3 separate regions of the Homo sapiens genome follow, and regions 2 and 3 are each linked to region 1. Evidence: promoter capture Hi-C in human tissues and cell types (Jung and others, 2019). All regions are on one chromosome and are shown on one strand. The core of a region is centred on a gene start or on the middle of the fragment in contact, and the rest is flanking DNA. Distances in the headings are between cores, read along the strand shown.

Evidence for each region. Contacts are between HindIII fragments. The study calls those that stand out against the background at their distance.
Region 2: the fragment with the promoter of UCN here is called in contact with the fragment with the promoter of AGBL5 in region 1 in 1 of the 25 tissues and cell types used here (spleen).
Region 3: the fragment with the promoter of KRTCAP3 here is called in contact with the fragment with the promoter of AGBL5 in region 1 in 2 of the 25 tissues and cell types used here (hippocampus and ovary).

Annotation. Positions count from the first base shown.
Region 1 is chr2:27,050,327-27,055,151 of GRCh38, reverse strand. It overlaps AGBL5 (AGBL carboxypeptidase 5), which reads right to left and starts at 3,484. Exons shown (of 15, transcript NM_021831.6): 1 at 3,359-3,484; 2 at 1,979-2,239; 3 at 1,579-1,750; 4 at 1,093-1,256; 5 at 345-522; 6 at 1-77. The coding sequence starts at 2,193. It overlaps TRY-GTA2-1 (tRNA-Tyr (anticodon GTA) 2-1), which reads right to left and starts at 4,370; the gene lies at 4,282-4,370. It overlaps TRA-AGC8-1 (tRNA-Ala (anticodon AGC) 8-1), which reads right to left and starts at 3,938; the gene lies at 3,866-3,938. RefSeq lists silencers at 2,984-3,033, 3,054-3,493, 3,897-4,191 and enhancers at 3,230-3,729, 4,044-4,273, 4,444-4,733. The HindIII fragment of the contact is 18,076 bases long and covers 1-4,825 here.
Region 2 is chr2:27,306,001-27,311,076 of GRCh38, reverse strand. It overlaps UCN (urocortin), which reads left to right and starts at 2,632. Exons shown (of 2, transcript NM_003353.4): 1 at 2,632-2,917; 2 at 3,169-3,677. The coding sequence starts at 3,182. The coding sequence ends at 3,556. It overlaps TRIM54 (tripartite motif containing 54), which reads right to left. Exons shown (of 9, transcript NM_187841.3): 6 at 4,975-4,997; 7 at 4,740-4,864; 8 at 4,535-4,621; 9 at 3,642-4,190. The coding sequence ends at 4,536. MPV17 (mitochondrial inner membrane protein MPV17) reads left to right here. Exons shown (of 8, transcript NM_002437.5): 8 at 1,096-1,585. The coding sequence ends at 1,165. The HindIII fragment of the contact is 27,300 bases long and covers 1-5,076 here.
Region 3 is chr2:27,440,510-27,445,610 of GRCh38, reverse strand. It overlaps KRTCAP3 (keratinocyte associated protein 3), which reads right to left and starts at 3,230. Exons shown (of 7, transcript NM_173853.4): 1 at 3,171-3,230; 2 at 2,848-3,032; 3 at 2,710-2,769; 4 at 2,331-2,537; 5 at 2,079-2,213; 6 at 1,550-1,662; 7 at 1,314-1,425. The coding sequence starts at 3,198. The coding sequence ends at 1,555. It overlaps NRBP1 (nuclear receptor binding protein 1), which reads right to left. Exons shown (of 18, transcript NM_013392.4): 13 at 4,909-4,959; 14 at 4,671-4,806; 15 at 4,431-4,484; 16 at 4,281-4,344; 17 at 3,989-4,044; 18 at 3,352-3,903. The coding sequence ends at 3,799. It overlaps IFT172 (intraflagellar transport 172), which reads left to right. Exons shown (of 48, transcript NM_015662.3): 46 at 162-315; 47 at 506-597; 48 at 1,090-1,234. The coding sequence ends at 1,179. RefSeq lists an enhancer at 2,553-3,095. The HindIII fragment of the contact is 11,668 bases long and covers 1-5,101 here.

The DNA.
Region 1 (4,825 bases), core at 2,235-4,734:
ATGAAGTCCAGAAAGCCATTGAAGACAAAGCTAGATGGAGTCTCCCCTGGGTGTACTCTACTGCTTAAGAAGAATATCTGAGGTAGAGAGGAGAGCAGACATTAAGTCAGTTACCCTGTAGTTCTACTTTGACAGTATATGGGGGGTGTCATGGATGAGGCAGGAATAGCCGCTGGATTTCCAGCTGGCTGAATCTGCAAGTGGAGCAGGGGCCATCACCCTTGCCGCACGCTGCGGGCGGAGGCCATGTCCAAGATGCCTAGAGATAACATAGTCTTTAGCTATAAACAGTACCTGGTGCTAGAGAAAAGCCAAAGAACTACCTTTATGCTATTTCCACTCACCCTCTTGCCTGCGAAACGGAATGGTCGAGGGGTGCTGGTATCAGGAAATAGCTGCTCTAGACGGGGCTCTCGATCTTCTCGAAGCCCATGGCAGGAAGTGATCGTCAGCAGATCTACACGAAGTCCATCCAGAGAATAGCAAAGGAGCTCCCGATGGTAATAGATGGTATCCAGGGGGCTACAGGGAAAAAAAAATTAAGCCAGGAGAAGTCCCTAAAGTCCTAGTAAGAGGTAGGCCTTGTCACCAGCCCAGGATCTGTAAAATCTGGTCCTTCACCCTAACCTTTGGGGCCTTATAGTCCCTCACAATGTTAAATGAGGCTAAGGATTTGAGTGGGTTTACATTGCCAGAATGAAGAGTACAGGACAGGGTGAACTTGTTGTTCCCCAGTTTGTGGCTTCCTAGAATAGATTACTTAATGTAGTCGGAGTTGTTCTCCGTGGGGGCAGATAAAAAAGGTATACTGAGTCACATAATGCTGGCTAAACTCTGGATAATTAATGGGAGCTGGGCTAGTAAGAGGTCTGAACTGGGCAGGTGAAAGAGTGGAGGGCAGGTGTCGATATGCTGAGATCAGGGTCATACAGAAACATAGTTTTCAAAGGTACCCAAAGTCCTGTCTGTACATTCTGTACAGAAAAAAGACGGATGAAAGTATGGTTCAGAGCTCTAAGAGCAAATTCCAGAAGTAGTGGAGGTGCTGTCTGATCCAGGACTGTGTGGCAGGAGTAAGAATGGGGCTGGCACCTGCTATGGGTAGGGTGGTTCTCCGGAAAGCGCTGGTCTAGCTGGTTTAGCAGTTCCTGGCAGTCACTGTAGGAGAAGGGGTAGCAGAAGGCGAAGAAGGTGGTGGCCCCACGGCCCTCCACGAAACGATGAACAAAGGATAACACAAACTGCGTCTCTGTCATCTGAAGAGCAGAGGAGGAAGAGGGAGGGGCAACATGCCATTGTCAGAACTGAGCTCCTACTGGGACCACCAGGAACTGACCTCACACCCTTATCACCTTTACCAACTTCCCTCCCTGTGACACTTTCTATATGAAAAGTGGCTCCTTCTAGGCTTCCTGAGGCAGGGGCTCATCTTGGACTCTAGCTAACACTGGAGAAAAAGCTGATACTTAAACCTGTTGTCCCACCTGCTTCATACTTGTATCAAGGAAAAAAAAACGCTTTACTTTCCTCTCTACTTTTAGCACCCAAGTCTTTCTTTCCTCCTCATGGAGAACTTACCTCAAAGGTGGGCCGGTCTCGAATGCGTTCCCAGCGTGGCCGGGTGGGCAGTGTGCGCACAAAGGGGGCCATGCCCTGGGAATACAGCTTGCTCTGCTTGTTCATGTTCATAATGTTGATCTTGATGAGTTTTCCTGGCATTCCTCCCCGGACGCTGAAGTAGAACCATGACCTGAGGACCAGAGTAAGAGAGAGGTCATTACGTGTGGAAGGGTTGGAGATATGGTCTGTGGGAGAGCCGGAGCCAGCCAAACTGGGAAAGGGCTATTTGGCAAGGAGAAAGGAGGGACGATGGGTCAGAAATGGACAGGGAGTATGCTGGGTATGAACAGATAAGTCAGAGGGCTAACTGAAGCATGGGTTTGGAGCCTTTTTCCACCCTCCATTTCGTTCCATATACCTGTTCCCATTCTCAAATTCCGTTTCAGCACAGTCTGGTCGGGTCCACACGTTGAATTCATAGTCAGGGGAAGAGGCAATGCCACTGGTCAGGGCTGACGCCCCACCTCCTACCCCTTCCCCATCACTGGACAAAGATTCCACCTTCTCCACGTGGGCTAGATTCCCTGAATCAAAGCGAGAACTGAACAGCAATCCCCCACAGCGCAGCTCCATGGTGGGGCTGGGAAAGCATCCTCCTGCCCCGCTCTGGCCCTGAGAGCTGGGGGAAAACAAGGGTTAGGTTAAGGAGGAAAGGGAAGACAAATCGAAGAGTTTTCTGGGTATCTCTTGATAAATAAGAGCTATTCTTAGGGAGTGCCCTATGAAACAAAAGGCTGTCTCCCTCTTAGAAAACATAGAAGTGGTCTTCCAGCAAAGGCCAAGAGAAAGCAGCATTCTGTACCCCAACACTAAGGGTTGTAAATGACCTAAAGGGACCCCATTTTACTTTAGCTTGGCTGTTCCCAAATAAAACTCAGTGGCTTAACTATGTTGAAAAACACTAAACTCTCAGCTGCTTTGCAGCCCAAAGATTAGAGAATATAATCAGAGAGGTCAGATTTTCCAAACCTAGCCAAGATACACTCACCACCATACATGGCCACCTTTAGAGATGGGCCGTTCTGGATCTCTGGCTCTGCACTCTCCAGCACAGAGCAGAGAGAGGAATCGAGGTTCTGAGTGTAAATGGGTAGTCCTCTCTCCAGCCTCTGTCCTCACAAGTACTGAGCGGACATTCTGGTGTTGCTCCCCTGAGCCCTGGAAGGGCTGGTTCTTCCTTTTTTGTTCCTACCTTATGCCTAGTATGGAGAAAAACTATAACAGTGGTGCCTCTGCCAAGCCAAAGGCTACTGGGCTCACCTAGCGACTGGAGCTCCCTTCCAGCCAGGGCATGGGTCTGTTTCCATCCCCCTCCGCCCCGTAAGCACTGCACCCTGAGAAAGCTACCCTAGTAGCTGTGGATGAGTAATGGGTGTTCTCAGCACCCCTAAAAGAGGTGGGCTGCTAGAGTCCCACTCGGGGGAAGGAGGCTGGCTTCTCCACCCTCGACTCGCGGGGAACCGTCACACCGAGCGGGCTTGCCCTGGGCAGGGTGGGACTGGGAGGCATGGAAGGGGTCGAGACGGGCTCCCGCGGCAGGGGATTAGGCAGGGAGGGCCTAGGAGTCAGAGGTGAGGCCACGGAGCTGGGCGGGGTCGGGACCGCGTAAGCCAGGTCGGGAGCGGGGTGCGGGGTGGCCTTCGAGGGGCTCGGGCTCAAGGGGCTGAGAGAAGGGGGCGGGGCCGGGGCTGGCGGGGCCGGGGCTGGCGGGGCCCGTAGTCCGCGCAGAGCCCCTCACCTCTCTCCGGGCCGGTGATCCCGCTCCCTCTCCCGCTAGCGAGGCCGCACCTTGGGCCCCGGCACCCGGGCCCTCCACCCGGGCCCCCAAAAACACCCGAGCGCCGCGGTGCCGGGACCCCGCTCTGCCAGGAAACAAGAAGTCTCTCGCCTATTGGCCGTGGCTGCAGCTGGCGACCCGCCCAGTAAAGCTCGCTACCATTGGTCAGCTCTCAGGGTTCCTCGCACGTTAGTGGGTACCTGAGCGAGTGTCGTTCGGGGACGATGGCGGGCAGGAGCGGCCGGAGGGTTCTAGCAGCGTCTTCCGGAAGACGGTTAACGGCCTGCCTGCCGGGAGGCGGGAAAGATAAAGCGGCAGAAACTGGGACTCAACTGCGAAATAAAAAGACATCGTGTGAAACTCCTTATCGCTTAACAGTCTTGTGTCTCTAAAATGAAACACGTAGCCCACTGCGCCGGGAATCCCTCCCGTTTTGTGTTCTGTAGTGTGACGGACGCAAAAGCTGAGTGGAGGATGCGGGCATCGATCCCGCTACCTCTCGCATGCTAAGCGAGCGCTCTACCATTTGAGCTAATCCCCCGCCTGCTGCTTAGTTCTTTCCCTTTGCCTTACAGGTTCACTGCACTGTTCACTGACCAGTGGATCAACCACAGTTCAGGACATTTATTTAGCAGAGTACAATACAGTGGCATCCATGTGCAAGATTCTAAAAATCAAGCATATAATCGTGTGCTTAAGCAGAAAACATTCTAAAACACGTTACCACATGTACATTGAACGCAGAAAGAGCGTTACCGTATACTACATACTACGGTGTTCCCTATGGACTGACGGCAGTACGAATGCTAAGTCACAGGAGGCCTCCAAGCCTTTCCCCTTATGGGATAATTGAATTAAATTGAGGTTAAAAATTACAGACGAAGTCCTTCGAGCCGGAATCGAACCAGCGACCTAAGGATTGCCACGCCCTATCCACTACAGTCCTCCGCTCTACCAACTGAGCTATCGAAGGCTCCGCTGCGATAAGATGCTGCTGATAGCCCTCTAATGCTTACCGCAACCTCATCCAGCCATGACCCCCGCTTTCTCCAGCTGAAGGAACCTGCCAGGGCAGGAGACCCATGGGACCTCACAGAGCTGAGAAAGCCGGAGACCCAAAGGCAAGGAAAAGAAGCTGCCCAAAGTCCGGGTTCTCAGGCCAGAACGGAGGCCACACCGGCCCTGAGCTTCCCGGCTTTTTAACAAAATGTTCCCAACACCCCGCGGTGGTTTCTCCTGGACCGCGAACGCCGAGCCCGCCGCCGCCTCCTGGAGCTCCGGGGCAGCGCTTGTGCCGCGGTACCTGCACTCACAGGGGCTTTGCGACCGCGACGCGCAAACCCTGCTCGAGAGCCGATGGGCCACTTTGGCTGCTCCTGCTCCACATTTCCCTTGGCTTCTCCGGACGTGCTCTCCTGACGCGAACGA
Region 2 (5,076 bases), core at 1,383-3,882, 260 kb before region 1:
CTCCAAAAAAAAAAAAAAAAAAAAAAAAAAAAAAGGCTGGACACAGTGGCTCACGCCTGTAATCCCAACACTTTGGGAGGCTGAGGCAGGTGGATCACAAGGTCAGGAATTCGAGACCAGCCTGGCCAATATGTTGAAACCCTGTCTCTACTAAAAATACAAAAATTAGCTGGGTGTGGTGGCAGGTGCCTGTAGTCCCAGCTACTCGGGAGGCTGAGGGAGGAGAATCGCTTGAACCTGGGAGGCGGAGGTTGCAGTGAGCCAAGATCTTGCCACCGCACTCCAGCCTGGGCAACAGAGCGAGACTCCGTCTCAAAAAAAACCCGAAAAAACAAAAAAGGAATACAGACTTATGAACCAAATCCTAAACATTAGGGTCCTTTGCAACACTCTTTGAAACCAGAGCAAGGTTAATTTAAAACAGAAAGATGCTACTTTATATGATAGTCCGTACATTTCGGAAGATGAAATCTCAGCTGGTACAAGACAGATCAATGAACTTAGAAGGGGCCCAGATAGGGGCCCTTTCTGTGATTAACAGAGCTATGCATGGCAAGAGAGCCGCTGAATATTTAGCCTTTGAGGCTCTCAGCCAGGAAACAGAGCTCTGGGATGGCACTAGAATTTGAGCCAGTTGTCCTTTAGTGCAAGCCACACAGGCCCTTCATAGGGTGCTGAAAGGGCTGGGTGTCGTGGCTCACACCTGTAATCCCAGCACTTTGGGAGGCCGAGGTGGGTGGCTCACTTGAGGTCAGGAGTTCGAGACCAGCCTGGCCAACATGGTGAAACCCTGTCTCTCCTAAAAATACAAAAATTAGCCAGGTGTGGTGGAGCACACCTGTAGTCCCAGCTACTTGGGAGGCTGAGGCACGAGAATTGATTGAACCCGGGAGGCAGTGAGCCAAGATTGTGCTACTGCACTCCAGCCTGGGCAACAGAGGAGACTCCATCTCAAAAAAAAGGTGCTGAAGGAAAGAGACCTAAACCTGCCAATCCTTTGTCATGATCCCTCCTTTGCCATTTCATGCTCCCATCTCCAGCCCTTGCTCACTGCTTAGCCTTCCTCCTCTTCATTGTGTTATTCCTGTTCCTTAGGTTGGCCGTTGTCCAATGTGTTGCTGTTATCTGGAACTCCTACCTGTCCTGGAAGGCACATCGGCTCTAAGCCTGCCTCACTCCATCGTTTCCACCTTGCAGTGATGCAGCTTGACCCTGGAACGGTCAGACAACCTCCTCAAAGTGGGCATACCAGTTTCCACGGGGTTGGGTTGCCGGTCAGAGCTTAAGAGGACTAGCACCCTGCAATGCCCCTCTTCACTCTAAAATGTACACTGACTGCTTTAGAGCCCTTGATAATAGTCTTATTCCCACCACATACTAGGCACTCCATAAATATCTGTTGAACCTTCATGACCTTATCAACTTTACACCCATATCCCAGCAAATGCCACTCATCCCCACTCTTCATAGACACATTTGTTACTCTAACCCTGCCTAGGCTTCTTGTAGCTCCAGCTCTTTAGAGACTCCCGGAACCCTTTATATGGTGCCTCAGTAAATATGTTATTAAATATGTAATCCGGAATCTGCAGTGGTAATGAGTAAGTTTTTAAGCAGAAAACTATTGGGGAGTCATTTCTAGAGCTGGAAAGAAGCCAAGAGACCACCAAGCCCAATTTTTTTTTTTTTTTTTTTTTTTTTTTTTGAGACAGGGTCTTGCTCTGTCTCCCAGGCTGGAGTGCAGTGGCGCGATCTTGCCTCACTGCAGCTTCCGCCTCCTGGGTTCAAGCAGTTCTCCTGCCTCAGCCTCCTGAGTAGCTGGGACCACAGGCGCATACCGCCACGCCCGGCTAATTTTTGTATTTTTAGTAGAGATGGGGTTTCGCCATATTGGCCAGGCTGGTTTCAAACTACTGACCTCGTGATCCGCCTGCCTCGGCCTCCCAAAGTGTTGGGATTACAGGCGTGAGCCACCGCGCCTGGCCAAGCCCAGTCTTACAAATGAGGACCCTGAGGTTGGTAGGAGGGAGGTGACCTGTCCACACCAGGAGTTAGCAGAAACTTGAACCCATATTTCTTTGCTGCTCATGGGCAGAGTTACACTGCTGCTATGATTCCCAGGAGAGAAACTGAACTTTGCTAAACTACTTTGGCAAACTCAAAAGCAGATGGGCCAGCCATTTGTGGTCTGAAAGCACTCGGATGCTAGAGACCCTCTGTTACATGGTGCCTGTCAGACAGCCCTACAATTTGGATCCTGGGGCTGGAAAAAGATAAGAATGCTGGGAGACTTTGGTTGTGGCAGACTGCCTCTCAGTGGGTCCCACTGTGTTGGCTGAGTGCCAGCGGTGGACTCCTGATGCCTGCATTTGCAGAACTGATAGCTGCAGGGAGGCAGTGGGTTCCAGCGGCACAGCGTTCTCACATTTCTGGCCACTTCTAGAGGCAGAGGACGGGGTCAGCACCATGGACAGCCTCACGGTCCCGCCTCCCTTTCGTGTGTCAGAACACGCGACCCGGACTAGTCTGGTCTGGGGACGGCCCTAGTCATTGCTGGCTGTTCTAAGCGGGGCGAGGGACTCCCGTGGGTCCCAGAGCAGTCTTTACGCCCCAGCCGGCTTCTCGCTTTCCTGCGTCCAGTGCTGCTTCCAGCGCTAGCCCCAGGGGCACGAAGGCTGGTGTAGGGAGGTGCGCCCCTCCGGGGGCCCGCCAGCCGTCAGACTCGAAGCTGTGGCTGTCATTGCTTCTACAATCAGTGCATGTTCTTCGCTGACGTCAGTCGGAGCTGTCCTGGCACTATATAAGGCTGGCGACAGCCCCGGGACAGACCCTGTGTTCCCCAAGGCGTCTTCAGCCTGCCCCGAGGGACAGAGACTGGAGCTCAATCTTGGACCGTACAGACGCTCGCCGACAACCTGTGAGTGGCTCAGAGCGTCCGCCCAGCCTCCCCCTGCACCAGGACTCCGCTCAGCTCAGCCACCACGCTCCTCCGGGGAGGGAGGCTGGGTGGAAGGGATGGAACAGCACTGGCGCAGTGGCTGGGGCTGGAGGGCAGGCTGCGGGCATTGGGCGGCGGCCGGAGGGGTCGCCGGGCGAGCGCGGGGAGGGGAGCGGCGGCCTGCAGCTGTCCCAGGCGCACCTCACCCTGCGCTGCCCCTGTGTGTCCAGGGCCGGCGGCACCATGAGGCAGGCGGGACGCGCAGCGCTGCTGGCCGCGCTGCTGCTCCTGGTACAGCTGTGCCCTGGGAGCAGCCAGAGGAGCCCCGAGGCGGCCGGGGTCCAGGACCCGAGTCTGCGCTGGAGCCCCGGGGCACGGAACCAGGGTGGCGGGGCCCGCGCGCTCCTCTTGCTGCTGGCGGAGCGCTTCCCGCGCCGCGCGGGGCCCGGCCGATTGGGACTCGGGACGGCAGGCGAGCGGCCGCGGCGGGACAACCCTTCTCTGTCCATTGACCTCACCTTTCACCTGCTGCGGACCCTGCTGGAGCTGGCGCGGACGCAGAGCCAGCGGGAGCGCGCCGAGCAGAACCGCATCATATTCGACTCGGTGGGCAAGTGATGGCCCGGTTTGGGGCTGCGAAAACGTTGACCCCTTTCCCCCACCCCAGAGTTGGGATGCGGGGCAGAGCCACCAGGGCACTGTCTGCGTGACTATTTTTTAATAAAAGTACTGAAGACCCGTTGGCTTTTGTCGTAGAGGCAGGGCAGTCACAGCAGCGTGGGAACCCGTGGGAAGGTGGGGCCCCCGGGCCAGCGGGAGGGGAACAAAATGCTGTGGGGGGCTCCGAGACAGCGGCTTTCAGCCAGGTCAGCCAGGTGCATGTGGACCCCAAGGGTCCCCAAATCCCCAGGACCTCAGAGGTCCCGGCACCACCGCCCCGCCCTCGGCCCTCTTCCCAGGGCGCTGGGCTCACCAGTTCGCTCCTGGCATCACAGAGGTGCCCAATAGGGGTTCATTTGGCTTCCGCCCCCCAGACGGTCTCAGGTTCTGGGAAGGGCAGGATGGTGGGCGGGTCGCCTTCGAAGCCCAGGCTGCGGGGTTGGGCAGCGAAAGGAGATACGGGTCTGGGACGCTCGAGTTCTTTATTGAGATCCTCCCGGGGCCGGCGCCGATTTGGGTGATGCTGCGGTCTCTGCGCAGATCCTCCCCGACTCTAGCGCGGGCTCTCGAGCAGGGTCGGGTCGGCGCAGGCCTGTGCCCGGGAAAGAAGGCTCGGTGGGCGGGTGCTGCGAAGGCACGAGGCAGCTCGAGCCCCGCTCACTCCGTCCCCCGCCACGTGGGTTTCTCCTCTACTCAGCCTGCCTTGCCTGCCCTCCCAGCACCCCAGAGGAACAGCGGGTGAGGAGGAAAGTGTACTTTTCCGCCCTAGGGGGCGCGCCTTTGTGGCTCCGGGGTTGGGTTGCACCGAGGAGTGGGGGCTCCACGCTACCCGCAGGGAGGGCAATCACTGGGGGAGGGGACGCGAGCACACCAGCCAGGCCCCACCCCAAGCCCCTCAGGCCGCTCTCACCTTAAGGCCCATCGGGCGGCTCTCACCTTAAGGCCCATCCGGCCGCTCTTCCTCCGGCCCCGCGCTGCCCTCCTCTCCGTCTGGGGCCACCTCCTCTTCCTCCCCGGAAGCGCCTGAGCCCAAGGAAGGCCTGGTGAGGTGGAGTCCCTGCCTTTACGGCCATCGTGCCCGCCGCACCCCCCACACAGAGGGTCCGAACCCGTCTCAGCGGCCCTCGGCCACCTCCTTCACCTGGCTGGAAGTCGATGGTCCGCAGCATTTCGGCCACGTGCTCCACCCTTACGGTGAATTGCTCCATGCTCTCATAGCCTGGCTCCGGCCGCCCTGCCAGCTCCACCTTCGACATGGCCCCGACCCTGCAGTGGCCACACGGACTCAGCTGGCAATGCCCCAGCACTCTCAAGCCCCACCCCAGCCAGTGGAGCAGTGCAGCCCCCTCCTTTCCCTTCCCGCTATGCCTACTCACTTATTGATCAGCTCCTTGGCCTGCTGCAGGGAAGAAAAGGAGGGTGAGAGTAAGCACTGGGCCAACCTGGGCAAAGTCCCATTTCTGAATCTCACCACAGTC
Region 3 (5,101 bases), core at 1,981-4,480, 390 kb before region 1:
GAAAGAAAAGGCTGTGACTGCATCCCCCAATCCAAGGAGGATTCGTGGCTAAAAGCTGGTATACAGGATGAGGGCTTAGCAAACCCCCTCCTCACCCATCCACCCCAACTTGTCCTGCCCTGCCCTGTGTGAAGCTACCACTCCCTTCTTGTCCTTTCCAGGAGGCTGAGAGAGAAGAGGTTCGAGACTGGGTGCTTACAGTCTCCATGGACCAGCGGCTGGAGCAGGTTCTGCCTCGGGATGAGCGTGGCGCCTACGAGGCCTCCCTAGTGGCAGCGAGCACTGGTGTTCGAGCCCTGCCCTGCCTTATTACAGGTATAGAAGCCTACAGCACCCCAGATCCTGTGGTGGGTAGAAAGCAGCAGGATCAATAAACTTAATTTTACTAGGATTCAGTAAAGGGTACAAAAGACAGGACTGTGCTTTCTACCCCCCAGGCTGCTCCTCATTTTTCCCTCCTCAATCTCTCTCAAACCCCAGTTCATCATTTTTTCTTCCTCCACAGGATACCCCATTCTGAGGAACAAAATTGAATTTAAGCGGCCAGGGAAGGCTGCTAACAAGGACAACTGGAATAAATTCCTTATGGCCATCAAGGTTAGAGAGGAGGACTTGGAGAATGAAGGCAGAGAGGGCAGCACTAAAAAAAGAAAAAAAAACAAGTCTGGGTGCAGTGGCTCATACCTTTAATCCCAGCACTTTGGGAGGCCAAGGTGGGCGGATCACCTGAGGTCAGGAGTTTGAGACCAGCCTGGCCAACATGGTTAAAACCTCGTCTCTACTAAAAATACAAAAGTTAGCCGGGTCTGGTGGCGTGCACCTGTAATCCCAGCTACTCAGGAGGCTGAGGCAGGAGAATCGCTTAAACCCGAGAGGCAGAGGTTGCAGTGAGCTGAGATTGTGCCACTGCACTCCAGCCTGGGCGACAAAGCAAGACTTTGTCTCAAAACAAACAAAAAACCCACATACACACTAGAAAGATGGGTGGGATTACAGGAAGGCAGATGCAGACCCTGAAGCCTGCGATGGAGCTGATTTTGTATTTCCAGCATTAACAAGTTCCTCTCATGTTCTTCCATTTGCTCACAGACCTCCCACAGCCCAGTGTGCCAGGACGTGCTGAAATTCATCAGTCAGTGGTGTGGAGGGCTCCCCAGCACCAGCTTTTCCTTTCAGTAGTTGGTAGAGCTGAGGAAGAGTTAGGGCCTCTCCCTCATTAAAGTTTTATAAATAATTGAGACCACTGTATTCTTTGATCAAAGTCATTCCCAACACCACACAGTGCCTTTTCCCCAAAAGGAATCATAATCAAGTAGAAGAAAAGAGAAGTTACTTTATTACAATTTGTTATCTCATCCCGAGGTCAGGGCCCCTTGCTTAGTGGGAAAAAAAACCCTTTAGGACTGAGTCTCGGAACAGCACCTGCTGGACAGAGGGGAGAACCAACCCAGGTCAGAGGGGAAAGCAGCATGGCAAGACCTAGACCCAGTTCTAAGAGCACTTCCTTGTCCCCGCTCTTACCCGGGCCACCACCTTCAAGGCCCATTACCTGTCCTAAACCCAACTTCTCTGTGATGCCCGGATTTCTTGATTTTGATCCAGTAGCTGCTCATTTTCCTGCCTTTTACATTTAGGAGATTCAAGCTCTGTCATTTCCTCTAGCTGCAGAAGAAGATAGAGTTAGACACCCTCGCCCTGAATGATAGGTCAGCATCTTTTTTTTGTTTTGTTTTTTGTGACGGAGCCTCACTCTGTTGCCCAGGCTGGAGTGCAGTGGCGTGATCTCGGTTCACTGCAACCTCCGCCTTCCGGGTTCAAGCGATTCTCCTGCCTCAGCCTTCCAAGTAGCTGGGATTACAGGCGCCCACCACCCCACCTAATTTTTTGTATTTTTAGTAGAGACGAGGTTTCACCATGTTGTCCAAGCTGGTCTCAAACTCCTGACCTCAAGTGATCCGCCTGCCTCAGCCTCCCAAAGTGCTGGGATTACAGGTGTGAGCCTCCGCACCCGGCCGGTCAGCATCTTTTCAACACAGCCAGTCTCTGTGGAATGAACCCTTCCTGTTTGCCTTCCTTACCTGCCCCTGAAGTCCGTCCTTCCTGCAGGGCCCAACTCCACGTAGAGTGAGTGCAGCCACACAGCAGTAACCAGATAGAGCAGCCTCCCCTGCAGACATGAGCAAAGAAGGGATCCAGAGAGCCAAGGCTGTATCCTGAAAAGCAAGAAGGATGGGGAGTAGGAGGGAGTAGGGCAAGTGCAGCAAATAGGGGAAATTAAAAGGGCAGGACCAAGGCTTTGTAGACCACAAGAAGGAAGAGAATGTGCTCACATAGATTCTTGTGGGGTCAAAGGGGCAGTCAGTATGTCCCGGCCCCTCATCCAGTGGTACCAGAGGATCCAGCAGTCCTGGGTGGCAGTCAGCAATAAGGCGGCGGCCACCGTTGGCCACAGTGAGTGACACAGCAAGAAGGAGGCCCAGGGAGCAGGCAACGGACAAGAGCAGGTTCACCAGAGCTAGTGCCAGCAGGACCCAGTGCTGGCAGGGACAGGAGATCAGGGTGAGCAGCCTGGGCCTGGCTAACTCTCCCAGTGACTAGACACCCAGTTTCTCTGAGGCTCCTCCAATCTATTGAAAGACCAAGCTCAGTCAGCCCCCATTTCCCTGACTCAAGCCTACTCGTTAAAAGCTCCAGGGAAGTCCCTCTCACCAGTGGAGGGCGAAGAAGGTTCCTGGACGCCAGGAGGGCCACAAGTCCCACGGAAACGCTCTGTGGAAGACACAAAGCCTTTGGCCTGCTGGGCTCTCCGGGAGCCCGGCCCCCGCCCGGGTCGCCTGCCGCGCTCACCAGCAGCCCCGAGCCGACAGAGATGACATTGGCTACGGTGTACTCCGGCGTGACAGCGCCGCGGGGATTGGCCACGTGCCGCAGGACGGTGCCATGCAGCACGGCCCCCAGCAGCAGGTTCACGTGGCCCACCAAGATCAGCGCGAGGCCCACACGCATCAGCCGCCTGGGCCCCCGGGCGGCGTCTGCAAAGCACGGGGGAGGGCAGGGTTGAGTCGGGCGGGGAGGGGAGAGGCGGCTCGCGGCGGGTTAACCGCGGGCAGTAGGACGGGGCAAGGGTAGCCCCAGGGTAAGGAGACGAGACGCCAGGGCCCGGAAGTTACCGAAAGCGCAGAGACTGCAGCGCCTCATCCCGTCCGCCGCGCCAGCCGCAGGGCCGCTGTACCTGGGCCCGGCCCCGCCCCAACCTGGGCCCCGCCTCCGTCCCGGGTCCCCCTCCCACCTGGGCCCCGCCTCCGCCCCGGGCCCGCTCCCCCTGGCGGGAAAGGCGCGAACACACGACGCTTTTAGCAAAAAGTAGACTTTTATTACAGCAGCAACTGAGGCGAATCGAATGGCCCCCCAGGGCCACCACTGCAGCACCACCTTTCTCTCCCGCCCCGGCCGCCCCAGCGGGATTGTAGAATTCGGCTCCCCTAGTGCCCGTGGGCCTCCTTTCCACACAGGCTGGGCGGGAGCCGGCAGATCAGCGACTAGCCCCCAACTAGAAGGCGGCTGCTGAGAAGGCCCAGGCCCACGTCTGTGCAAAACAAGTAAACAAAGTGCAGAGGGGAGGAAGAGAGGGGAGGGGAAAGGATGATGCTCAGAACCAGGGAGCCCCCCCAGCCCTCCTGAATAATAAAGGAGGGAAGGGGCTTCACAGGGTAATACTGACTGGGGGGAAGGGACAGGAGGGCTGCAGCACGTCCAGGGACAGCCACAGCGCAGATCAGGGCCTGGCCCGAGTGAGCTCTAAGAGGAGACGGTGACAGCGGCTGAGTTGAGGGTACTGTTCCTGGCAAAATTGAACTTGTTCAAGGTCTCTTCTAGCAGAGAAGTCAACCGGCTCTGGTCAGCCTGGGGGAGAAGAGCTCAGTAAGATGGGGGCTGAGAGAAGAGAAGGCATGGGGGCAGCCAGGGCAGATGAAGGCAGAAACCTCACCTCACTAATGAAGCCCAGCTGCACCAGCTCAGCCGCCAACTCGGGGATATTCTCATCTGACAAAGAAACAGGAGGGGGTGAGTACAGTACGGGACTGAGGGACCTGGGGCCCTTCAGACAGCCCCACTAGGGCTAAACTGTCAGTCAGATCCACCCACTGCTTTAGGGTCTAAGATAGTCATTCTATGTGAGTCAATGTGTTACTGCCTTGTCACCTCCCCCACCCCTGAATATGTCCCTAAAAGATAAGGCTCATAGACTCTCCATCCTCTGAGGGAAAGGAGAGACTCACTTGGCATCAGGTCACAGCTCAGGTGCCGGTTCAGTTTGTCCTCCAACTTCAGCAGAAGTGTCAGCTGGAGAATAGGACAGTCAGAAAATGAGACTTTTCTTCCCTACCCTCTGGCTACTAGCCCTGCGCAACCCTAGCCCTGAGCCTTACGTGGTGTTTGACTCCCTCCTCCACCGACTCAATGTTGCACTGCATCAGCACCACCTAGGGAGGGAAGAGAGGGTCACTCTAGAGACCTGTCCATAAAAAACCCAATACCTAGACGTCTTTCGAGCCCATAGGGCATGGCTGCTAGGGAGCATTTTCTCTAAAGGATAGAGCCTTATTTGAGATGTCCTCTCTCCCTTCCACCACAACCATGGAGACAATCCACACCCACACAGCCCCCACCTTGCGAGTCTCCACCTCAGCTGGTTCAGGTGTCGGAGTCTTGACAGAGGGGGGCACGACAGGTGATGTCACCTCCTCCTGCTGTGGCTGCTGGGGCCGAGGCAGCCCAAAGGCTGTCAGAGGATAGATCCCATTCCTGGAGGGAGATGAAGACAGGTCACATGGGCTCTGTGAACGCCTTAGGATACCCAACCCCGCCTGCTTCCTCAAGAAAGCCTGCTTCTCACTCTGCTCTCACCTGACATCTTCAAGGAATTTATCTAATTCCAGAGCTGGTGACTGAGAGTACCTGGACGAGAAAAGAGAAAGGAGATGGAAGGAAAGAAACAAGCAAAATAGCAAATTCAAGCATTCCCAGAGAATGGACAGTTTACAGAGCCTCAAGAGTGGTCGTGACCAATCTGCCCCTTTCAGACCCTCTCAGTTACTCA